Regions from separate parts of the Homo sapiens genome. Here regions 1 and 3 are each linked to region 2. Evidence: promoter capture Hi-C in human tissues and cell types (Jung and others, 2019). All regions are on one chromosome and are shown on one strand. The core of a region is centred on a gene start or on the middle of the fragment in contact, and the rest is flanking DNA. Distances in the headings are between cores, read along the strand shown. Region 1 has its middle 90 kb from the start of EPC1. Region 2 holds the start of CCDC7 (coiled-coil domain containing 7). Region 3 overlaps EPC1 (enhancer of polycomb 1).

Region 1 (3,459 bases), core at 485-2,984, 190 kb after region 2:
GTAGTCCCAGCTACTCGAGAGGCTGAGGCAGGAGAATGGCGTGAACCCGGGAGGCGGAGCTTGCAGTGAGCCGAGATCTCGCCACTGCACTCCAGCCTGGGCACAGAGCGAGACTCTGTCTCAAAAAAAAAAAAAAAAAAGTAGAATTACCATATGACCTAGGGATTCCACTTCTAAGTATACATCTCAAAGAATTGAAAGCAAGGTCTTGAAGAGATATTTGTACATTTATATTCATAGCAGCATTATTCACAACAGCCAAAAGGTAGAAACAAAGTGCCCATCAACAAGGAAAATGTGGTGTATACATACAATGGAATATTATTCAGCTTTTAAAGCGGAGCTTGCAGTGAGCCGAGATCGCCCCACTACACTCCAGCCTGGGTGAAAGTTCGAGACTTCGTCTCAAAAAAAAAAAAAAAAAAAAAAACAGAAAACAAAAAACAAAAAAACAGGGAAATCCTGTCACATGCTACAACATGGATGAACCTTGAGGACATTATGCTAAGTGAAATAAAAGTCACAAAAAGACAAATGTGGTATGATTCCACATATTGAGGTATCTAAAGTACTCAAACTCATACAAATAAAAAGCAGAAAGATGGTCGCCAGGGACCAAGGGAGGAGGAAATAGGAAATTGTTATTTAATAGGTATAGTGATTCAGTTTTACAAGAGGAGGCCAGGCGCGGTGGCTCACACCTGTAATCCCAGCACTTTGGGAGACCAAAGTGGGCAGATCACCTGAGGTTGGGAGTTCGAGACCAGCCTGACCAATATGGTGGAACCCCGTCTCTACTAATAATACAAAAAATTAGCCAGGCACGGTAGCGGGCGCTTGTATTCCCAGATACTTGGGAGACTGAGGTGGGAGAATTGCTTGAACCCAGGAGGCAGAGGTTGCGCGGTGAGCCGAGTCACTGCACTCCAGCCTGGAGTTTTACAAGATGAAAAGAACTCCGGACATTGGTCGCACAACAATGTGAAGATACTTAGGACTACTGAACTGCACAGTTAAAAATAAAGAAAGGCTGGATGCGGTGGCTGGGGCCTGTAATTGAGTGCTTTGGGAGGCTGAGGCAGGAGGATTGCTTGAAGAGTTTGAGACCAGACTCTTGCAAGAAAGCAAGACCCTGTCTGTACAAAAAATAAAAAAATTAGCTGGGTGTAGTGTGCCTTGTAGTCCCAGCTACTCGGGAGGCTGGGGCAGGAGGATCACTTGAGTCCCAGAGTTCAAGGTACCACTGTATTCCAGCCTTGGTGACAGAGCGAGATCGTGTCTCTAAATAAATAAATATATAAATATATATATATATAAAAAGATGTAACTTTTATGCCATATATATTTTACCACAGTTAAAAATTTCTGGCTAGATGCGGTGGCTCACGCCTGTAATGCCAGCATTTTGGGAGGCCGAGGTGGGTGGATCACCTGAGGTCGGGAGTTTGAGACCAGCCTGACCAACACTGAGAAACCCCGTCTCTACTAAAAGTACAAAATTAGCTGGGCGTGGTGGTGCATGCATGCCTGTAATCCCAGCTACGTGGGAGGCTGAGGCAGGAGAACTGCTTGAACCTGGGAGGCAGAGGTTGTGGTGAGCTGAGATTGTGTCATTGCACTCCAGCCTGGGCAACAAGAGCGAAACTCCGTCTCAAAAAAAGAAAAAAAAGAGTATTATTTCTGTTCACTGTCTTTTTTTTTTTTTTTTTTTTTTGAGAGAAAGAATGGGTCTCACTCTGTCACCCAGTCAGGAGTGCAGTGCAGTGGCACGACACAACCACAGCTCACTGCAGCCTTGAACTCCCAGGCTCGAGTGATCCTCCCACCCTAGCCTCCCGCATAGGTGGGACTACAAGTGCACACCATTACGACTGGCTGATTTTTATTTTTTTTATTTTTTGTTGCCAGGACTGGTCTCGAACTGTTGGGCTCAGGCGATCCTCCTGCCCTGGCCTCCCCAAGTGCTAGGATTACAGGTGTGAACCGCCACACTGGGACTGTTCACTGTCTTCTTTTGGAGCAAGAGGCTTGGGGAGAGGGAAGTAAAAAGGATCACAGAGACCTGGTGGGGGAAGTGTCAAGCCTACAGTTCTGTGTTTGGACCTCTATAGGTCTGCTGCATTTTTCATAGCTGTCCTTTCTGCCCAGGACAGCTTGGACCAAACCCCCCTCCAGCAGAAGTCCCTGGGCCTGGTCCAAGCCTACACATCCCACATCTCCATGCAAACACACCTCTTTAAATATTAATGATAGAGAGACGGGCCAAAGTTAGTGGCTCTGGAATTCATTCTAATGTAGATAGAGAGATGGCCCAAAGTTAGTGGCTCTGAAATTCATTCTAATGTAATCAAAAGCAAAAAGAGCCAGATCTCTGAGACCATAGGTGGTAAACTGGCCGATAAAACATTCTACATTCTCGCTAAACATTTGGTAATTGCCTGCTAATTTGGCCACTTGATTAGTGATGGGGGAAGTCACTGGTGCCGCCTAGTGGCAATCTTTGGGAACGAGCGAAACCGCATAGCTGCCCAGAAATCGTGGACAATGAAAGGCCCAGTTAGGTGACAAAGTGCAAAAACAGAGTGTACCATTTTGCCTCCACTTGTGTTATCAAGAGGGATAGAGATTGGGAACAGGGCTACACATAGACTATCTCTAGAAACGTCACCATGTGATTGGAATGCTTTAAAGTGTTTTTAAGCAATAGATACAGTTTTTCCTTGTGTAAGGAGAGATGGATCACATGGCAAATGCTTACTGAGGCTGTGCCAGCCACTTTTGGACACTGTTTCTCAAAGTCTGGTCCTCCGACCACCCGCATAGGAATCACTTGACACGCTGATAAAAATGCATATCCTGGCCGGGTGCGGTGGCTCACGCCTGTAATCCCAGCATTTTGGGAGGCCGAGGTGGGAGGATCACTTGAGGTCAGGAGTTCGAGACCAGCCTGGCCAACATGGTGAAACCCCGTTTCTACTAAAAATACAAAATTAGCTGGGCGTGGTGGCTTGGGCCTGTAATCCCAGCTAGGAAGGCTGAGGTGGGAGAATCGCTTGAACCTGGGAGGAGGACGTTGCAGTGAGCTGAGACCATGCCACTGCACACCAGGCTGGGCAACAGAGTGGGATTCCATCTAAAAGAAAAAAAAAAAAAAACCTGGGCGCGGTGGCTCACACCTGTAATCCCAGCACTTTGGGAGGCCGAGGCAGGCGGATCACCTGAGGTCAGGAGACCAGCCTGGCCAACAAGGTGAAACCCCGTCTCTACTAAAAATAAAAAATTAGCCAAGTGTGGTGACATGCAACTGTGGGCCCAGCTACTCAGGAGGCTGAGGCAGGAGAATCGCTTGAGCCCAGGAGGTGGAGGTTGCAGTGAGCCAAGATGGCACCACTGCACTCTAGCCTGGGTGACAGAATGAGATGCTGTCTAAAAAAAAAAAAAAAAAGCATATCCCCTAAC
Region 2 (3,287 bases), core at 241-2,740:
GTGCGCCCTGCTCCCTTTTACATTTTTCTCATGCCGATTGTGACACGATGCTTTCAGTAAAAATTAATGATACAAGCAAAATGATGCAGAAACCAAGATTAAATTTACAAAATTGAAAAGCCTCAAAAGAATTCTGAATAAATTACATTGCCAAAGAAACTCCATCAAAACCTTCAGGTCCAAGCAAACATCAAAAATTCCATCAAAACCATCAGGACCAGGAAACAGGACGTAAGAAGAGTGGCCAATGAGCCAATAAGTAAAACCAAAAGGTTATATATACATAGAAAGCAAGGAAAAGAAAATATCACCAAGGACCGAGTGATGAACTACGTCAAATGCTGAGTCAAGTAAAATGAAGACTAAGCTGACACTGGATTTGGCAACATGGAGGTAGGTCATTTGTAACCTGAAGAACGGCAACAATTTCAGTAGAATGATCGAGGTAAATATCTGACTTACCGTTCAAAAGAGAGGAAGTAGGAACAATGAATTGAATATAAGCACTGTAGAGAAATTTTACTATAAAAGGGAGTAAAGAAATACAGTATTACTAGAAGAAAACATGGTCAAGAGGAAAGTTCGATGGAAAAAAGAACAAGTGTATATGCTGTTATGGATTGCATTGTGTCCTCTCTCCCCAAAAAAGTGTGAGGGAGGGAGGGAGGGAGGGAGGGAGGGAGGAAGGGAAGAGGGGAAGGAAGGAAGGGAGGGAGGGAGGGAGGCAGGCAGGCAGGCAGGCAGGCAACGCTCACTTGGTGCAAAAAAAAAGAACCTGACAAATGCTCCGATGAAGTTCACATAAATACAAAAATAGTCACACGCAATGAATACTCGTATTAGCAAGCAAATATTTAAGGACTTTACATATTTAATTCATTTATCCCTCCTAACAATGCTAGGAAGTGGATGTCAGCATTACTTCGCCCAAGTGCATCCGTCCCTTTCCGCCACCACGACAAATGTTTTCTGGTTTCATCCTTCAAGGATTAACTTACATTCATTTCAAATCCTTTAATGATAAAGTGTACAAAATAGAGGAGAGCGGCAGGGGTTGGCAGGGGACGTAGGGAAAGGATGATTTGCCTTCGATCCTACATCCTGCATAAAAAGCAGCACAACCGCCACGGAGGCAGCCAGGCAGCGGGAAAACTAAGTGCAAAGCCAGGACTCTCCCGAAACCCTCAGGTCCTGCTAAGGGAGCCGCTCCCGAGGCTCCCCGCCCTGTGTACCTGCTGAGACTGTGGGAAGTCGGGTGACTGGGCGGTTTGGCCTTGCTGGCTCTAAGGTGAAAAACTATTTGCCTGAGGAAGATGACAATTCCGAGCCTGCCAGACTTCCTTCGAGACGGAAGCCTGAAAACTCCTCAGACTCCAGCACCTCCCTTTTACAAACTGACGTTTGTGCTGAAAGAAAAGGCCCGGCCTCTGCGCCCCCGGGCGGCAGCAAAGACCGCCGGGCACCCGCCGCCGGCGCCGGATGGGGCCGTTGAAGCCACGTCCCAGGCGCCCGACGCCACGACGCCTTGGCGCCGCCGGCGTCGCTGACGCTGCGAGCGTGAGCTGCGCGCCGAGAGCGGAAGAGGAGACGCAGTTTGGCGGCTGTGGGGATTTGCCGGAAGGTTAATAATGTCCATGGGCACATCGGCCTCCTCCTTTCTTATTCTCTCCCAAGTGTAATTCCAGGACGCCCCCTGAGCGCAGATTCATCCAGGCATTTGGCCTAGAGGCCCGCGGAGGAGAAATAAAGTACAGGCCTGGTAGGACCTTTGAGAACCTGGGCTTCAGCTACAAAACCAGAGCCCCAGTCCTTCATCTGCTGTCTCCTCAAGCTCTTTTCAGTGTATTGTGGAGTTCATTACCACTCTAAGCTCGCACGGAAGTGTACACCAGCTTCGTGATCTTAAAAGCAAAACAAAATCAAATGGACTAGGAATTAACTTGAAGCAGAGTTGTGACACTTAAGTGGTTTCTTGCCATCAGTTTCCACGCACTGCTTTAAGATGCAATTTTACAAGGTAGAGTTTTTTAGATAATTTGACCTCAAGAAATATATTAATTTTGTCTTTAAGTTGAACGAAGTAAAATGTTTTTAATATTTTAAAATATTAATTGATACAATTTAACTGTTAATAATGCCTGTGTGTAAATGAAAGGAATAGGAAAGATGGAACTAAAACTAAAAACCAGGAGGTTTAAAGGAGACCTTAGATTTGACTTAGTAGATTTCAACTATTTTCTAAAACTCTGAAAATTCATTATATCTAATTATTTCTAATTTTCCAGTAAAATCTGAATGCCTCACAAGAGATTCCTGAAAATTTATCAGCTCCCAAGAGCTGGTGTAGGCTAGCTCCATCACACCACTAGGAGTTACCATTGGGGTTGCCTGGAAAGGGAAAACAACACATCTTCTGGTGTACCAGAAATGTTCTGTCTTCTGCTCTTTCTGGGTGTGTTCAAAAATTCATGAAGGCAGGCTGGGCGTGGTGGCTCGCACCTGTAATCCCAGCACTTTGGGAGCCTGAGGCAGTGCATCACTCGAGGTCAGGAGTTCGAGACTAGCCTGGCCAACATGGTGAAACCCCATCTCTACTAAAAATACAAAAATTAGCCGGGCGTGATGGCGGGTGCCTGTAATCCCAGCTACTTAGGAGGCTGAGGCAGGAGAATCACTTGAACCCAGGAGGTGGAGGTTGCAGTGAGCCGAGATTGTGCCATTGCGCTCCAGCCTGGGCAACAGAGCGAGACTCCATCTAAAAAAGAAAAAAAAAAAAAAACATGAAGGCATATGCTTATTTATGCACTTTTCAGTATGTGTGTTTTATGTCAGTAACAAAGAAAATGTACATATAAATGATCAGATTTATTAAGCTTTCCACCAACAATTTTTTATTTTTTAAAGTTGGCAATAAAATTAAGAAAGTAGTTTAGAAAGAATTGAATTGCTAAATTCCAAATCTCCCAAAACCGTTGTAAATGAAAGGGATAGGAAAGATAGAACTAAAAGTCAGGAGAGATTAAAGAAGACCTTAGATTTGACAAAGCCAATTTCAGTTATTTTCTAGAACCCTGAAAATAGATTACATCTAGTCATTTCTAATTTTGTTGGTAAAATCTTAACGGTCAAGTTGTCAAGTTAGCATACATTAGCAAAACTCTCAGCATGAGTCTAGCCAAAAGTTCACCATTCATATCTGTGGCCTTAATAGCACAGCTAAGAACCACAGAAAAGTTATCAGTGCTGACAATGTAAAGCAAAGAAGTTTAAAAAGTTAATAAATTTAA
Region 3 (3,389 bases), core at 365-2,864, 160 kb after region 2:
AAAGACCTCAGTCAGATACTAGTCAATATCAAATCATGTAGATGGCGGCATTTTAGGCCTCGGACACCATCCCTACATGACAGTGACAATGATGAACTCTCCTGTAGAAAATTATATAGGAGTATAAACCGAACAGGAACAGCACAACCTGGGACCCAGACATGCAGTACCTCTACGCAAAGTAAAAGTAGCAGTGGTTCAGCACACTTTGGTATGTTGACTGTTAATGATGTACGTTTCTATAGAAATGTCAGGTCCAACCATTTCCCATTTGTTCGACTATGTGGTCTGTTACATTTATGGCTTAAAGTCCTTTTCTCTTAAACAGTTAAAAAAAAAATCTTGGTCTAAGTATTTATTTGAATCCTGTTGCTATAGGAGTTTGTATGTGTGTGTCTTCATTTAAACATACCTGCATACAAAGATGGTTTATTTCTATTTAATATGTGACATTTGTTTCCTGGATATAGTCCGTGAACCACAAGATTTATCATATTTTTCAATAATATGAGAAGAAAATGGGCCGTAAATTGTTAACCATTTTATGTTCAGATATTTCTCTAGTTTTTACCTAGTTTGCTTTAACATAGAGACCAGCAAGTGAATATATATGCATAACCTTATATGTTGACACAATAATTCAGAATAATTTGTTAAAGATAAACTAATTTTTCAGAGAAGAACATTTAAAGGGTTAATATTTTTGAAACGTTTTCAGATAATATCTATTTGATTATTGTGGCTTCTATTTGAAATGTGTCTAAAATAAATGCTGTTTATTTAAAATATTCCTATAATCTTAGCTGTCTGTTTTAAAGCATAAGTTTGTGTTATTTGAAGCCTATATATTGTAGAAATTCACCATTGAATTATGTTACTACTGATTTTTGTAAAGGTAATCTGAGGACTATGAAGATATTTATCATTCCCCTAATTCACCCTGTAGGGTTATAGTTAAGTTGCTTCATAAATATGAACATTTGCTCTGATTCTTAAAGACCTCCAGAAAATGTTCCGTAAACTAATTTACTTGGTGGTTAAAAAAAAGTACAGTTGACCCCTGAACAACATGAGGGTTAGGGGCACCCCCCAATTGCAGTCCAAAATTCATGTATAACTTTTGACTCCCCAAAAACTTGACTAATAGTCTGCTCCTGACCAGAATTACCAATAACATAAACAGTCCATTAGTCCATTAACATAAACAGTCCAAACATACATGTTTTGTATGTTATATGTATTCTGTACTTCATTCTTAAAATAAGCTAGGAAAAAGAACATGTTATTAAGAAATTTATAGAGCCAGGCATGGTGGCTCATGCCTGTAATCCCAGCACTTTGGGAGGCTAAAGTGGGCAGATTGCTTGAGCCCAGGAGTTCAGGACCAGCCTGGGCAACATGGTGAAACCTCATCTCTACAAAAAATGCAGAAATTCACTGGGTGTGGTGGTGAGCGCCTGTAGTCTCAGCTACTCAGGAGACTGAGGTGGTAGGAGCCCAGAAGGTCAAGGCTGCAGTGAGCCAAGATCATGCCACTGCATTCCAGGCTTCACAGCAAAGCAAAACCCTGTTTCAAAAAAAAAAGAAATTCATAAAGGAGAGAAAATACATTTACTAATCATTAAGTGTAAGTGGATCATCATAAAGGTCTTTATCCTTGTCATCTTCACATTGAGGGGGAGGAGGGGTTGGTCTTGTCATCTGAGAGGTGACAGAGGCAGAAGATAATTTACAAATAAGTAGACCCAGGCAGTTCAAACCCATGTTATTCAAGGGTCAGCTGTACTTCTATGAAATGGAAGTCTTTCAGCTCATGAGAAAAATAATCACAATTCAGAAATCAGCTGGAAGATAAAGCTATTTTAGGGACTAACAGCTTATTTATAATCCCATTAATGTTACTGTCTTTATCACCAAAAGCCAGTTTCTCTCTACTTTTATAGTCTTAAGAATCAAAATAAAGAACTTTTCAATAAAGACTTACTTATAGTGTTAGTATAGAGGTTTTAACAGTATAAACCTGTCATAGGTTACCCTGATAATTAAGCTTTCTAAGCTGTAAAAATTCTTTAAGACTTCTCAGAAAATAGGCATGTTCCATCAATCTCCATCTTCTCCACCCCTTAAATAGAGAAGTTGAAGTGTATAACTATCCTAAATATTTAAGGATTTTATAATGCTCTTTTTTTATGAAAAATGTTTTGCTATACTGCTTTAGGCATATTAATAACAGTTGTAAAAATTGTTTGATTTGTGTTTGCCCAAAGAACATTAAAAGATGAGCATTACCAAAAGCTTAGCTGAAAAGAAATCATTAGTAACCTTGTAATTTTTCTTCTTTATCATTTCTTTCCTCCATATATGCGATACAACTATTTATTTATTTATTTAAGACAGGATCTTTCTCTGTCACCCAGACTGGAGTATAGTGGCACAGTCATGGCTCACTGCAGCCTCAACTTCCCAGGCTCAGTGATCCCCCAACCTCAGCCTCCTGGGTAGCTAGGACTGCAGGCGTATGCCACCATGACTGGCTAATTTTTTGTAAGAGATAGGGTCTATGTTGCCCAGGCTAGTCTTGAACTCCTGGCCTCAAGTGATCCTCCTGCCTTGGCCTCCCAAAGTGCTAGGGTTACAGGGGTGAGCCACTGCACCCAGCCTCAATACTACTTTTTAAAAATGAGTTTATCTATTTTTTTTCCTGTTGTCTTAATTATTTTCAATTTCTCCTTAAATTTTGCTAGATCTTCTAATACTTAGAGGATAGATACCTACAGACTACTGTAGGGTAACACTGTTCATTTATATTTGTGAATATTCCAGAGACCTAAAGCTTTTCTCTGCATACTTTATAAAGTATATTACAATGCAGCCATATCATAAGTGCATTTCACTTAATCCAACTCCAGGCCCCTGAAGAAAAAAAAAACAAAATTTAGGCCAAGTGTGGTGGCTCATGCCTGTAATCCCAGTACTTTGGGAGGCCGAGGCGGGCAGATCACCTGAGGTCAGGAGTTCCACACTAGCCTGGCTAATATGGCGAAACCTGGTCTCTACTAAAAAATACAAAAATTAGCTGGGCATGATGGCAGGCGCCTGTAATCCCAGCTACTCAGGAAGCTGAGGCAGGGAGAATGGCTTGAACCTGGGAGTCAGAGGTTGCAGTGAGCCGAGATTGTGCCATTGCATTCCAGCCTGGGCGACAGAGTGAGACTCCATCTCAAAAAAAAAAAAGAGAAAATGTAGCAGCTCAAATGTTATACAGAATTCTAAATACAATTTACTGAAAGAATATATTCTCCAGAGTGAGCCTGGAGTAGGGGAAGTTGAATGTGTTGGTCCTCTTACGGCGTGAGTGCCCGCATTGCCACTTTATTCATAGGTTAAGC

What was found. The method cuts DNA at HindIII sites, captures the fragments that hold promoters and counts their contacts. A contact is called where the count stands out against the background at its distance.
Region 1: a contact is called between a fragment that was not itself captured here and the fragment with the promoter of CCDC7 in region 2, in 1 of the 25 tissues and cell types used here (H1 embryonic stem cells).
Region 3: a fragment that was not itself captured here is called in contact with the fragment with the promoter of CCDC7 in region 2 in 1 of the 25 tissues and cell types used here (hippocampus).

The regions. Positions count from the first base shown.
Region 1 is chr10:32,255,872-32,259,330 of GRCh38, reverse strand. No RefSeq gene overlaps it. Among named protein-coding and RNA genes, the nearest start is that of EPC1, 90 kb to the left of the region's middle. RefSeq lists a silencer at 2,474-2,593. The HindIII fragment of the contact is 4,191 bases long and covers 1-3,459 here.
Region 2 is chr10:32,444,343-32,447,629 of GRCh38, reverse strand. It overlaps CCDC7 (coiled-coil domain containing 7), which reads right to left and starts at 1,490. Exons shown (of 44, transcript NM_001395015.1): 1 at 1,233-1,490. LOC101929431 (a long non-coding RNA gene) reads left to right here and starts at 1,574. Exons shown (of 3, transcript NR_120660.1): 1 at 1,574-2,017. RefSeq lists a silencer at 1,320-1,549 and an enhancer at 1,620-1,939. The HindIII fragment of the contact is 7,178 bases long and covers 1-3,287 here.
Region 3 is chr10:32,281,520-32,284,908 of GRCh38, reverse strand. EPC1 (enhancer of polycomb 1) reads left to right here. Exons shown (of 14, transcript NM_001272004.3): 10 at 1-211. Among named protein-coding and RNA genes, the nearest start is that of EPC1, 64 kb to the left of the region's middle. The HindIII fragment of the contact is 3,694 bases long and covers 1-3,389 here.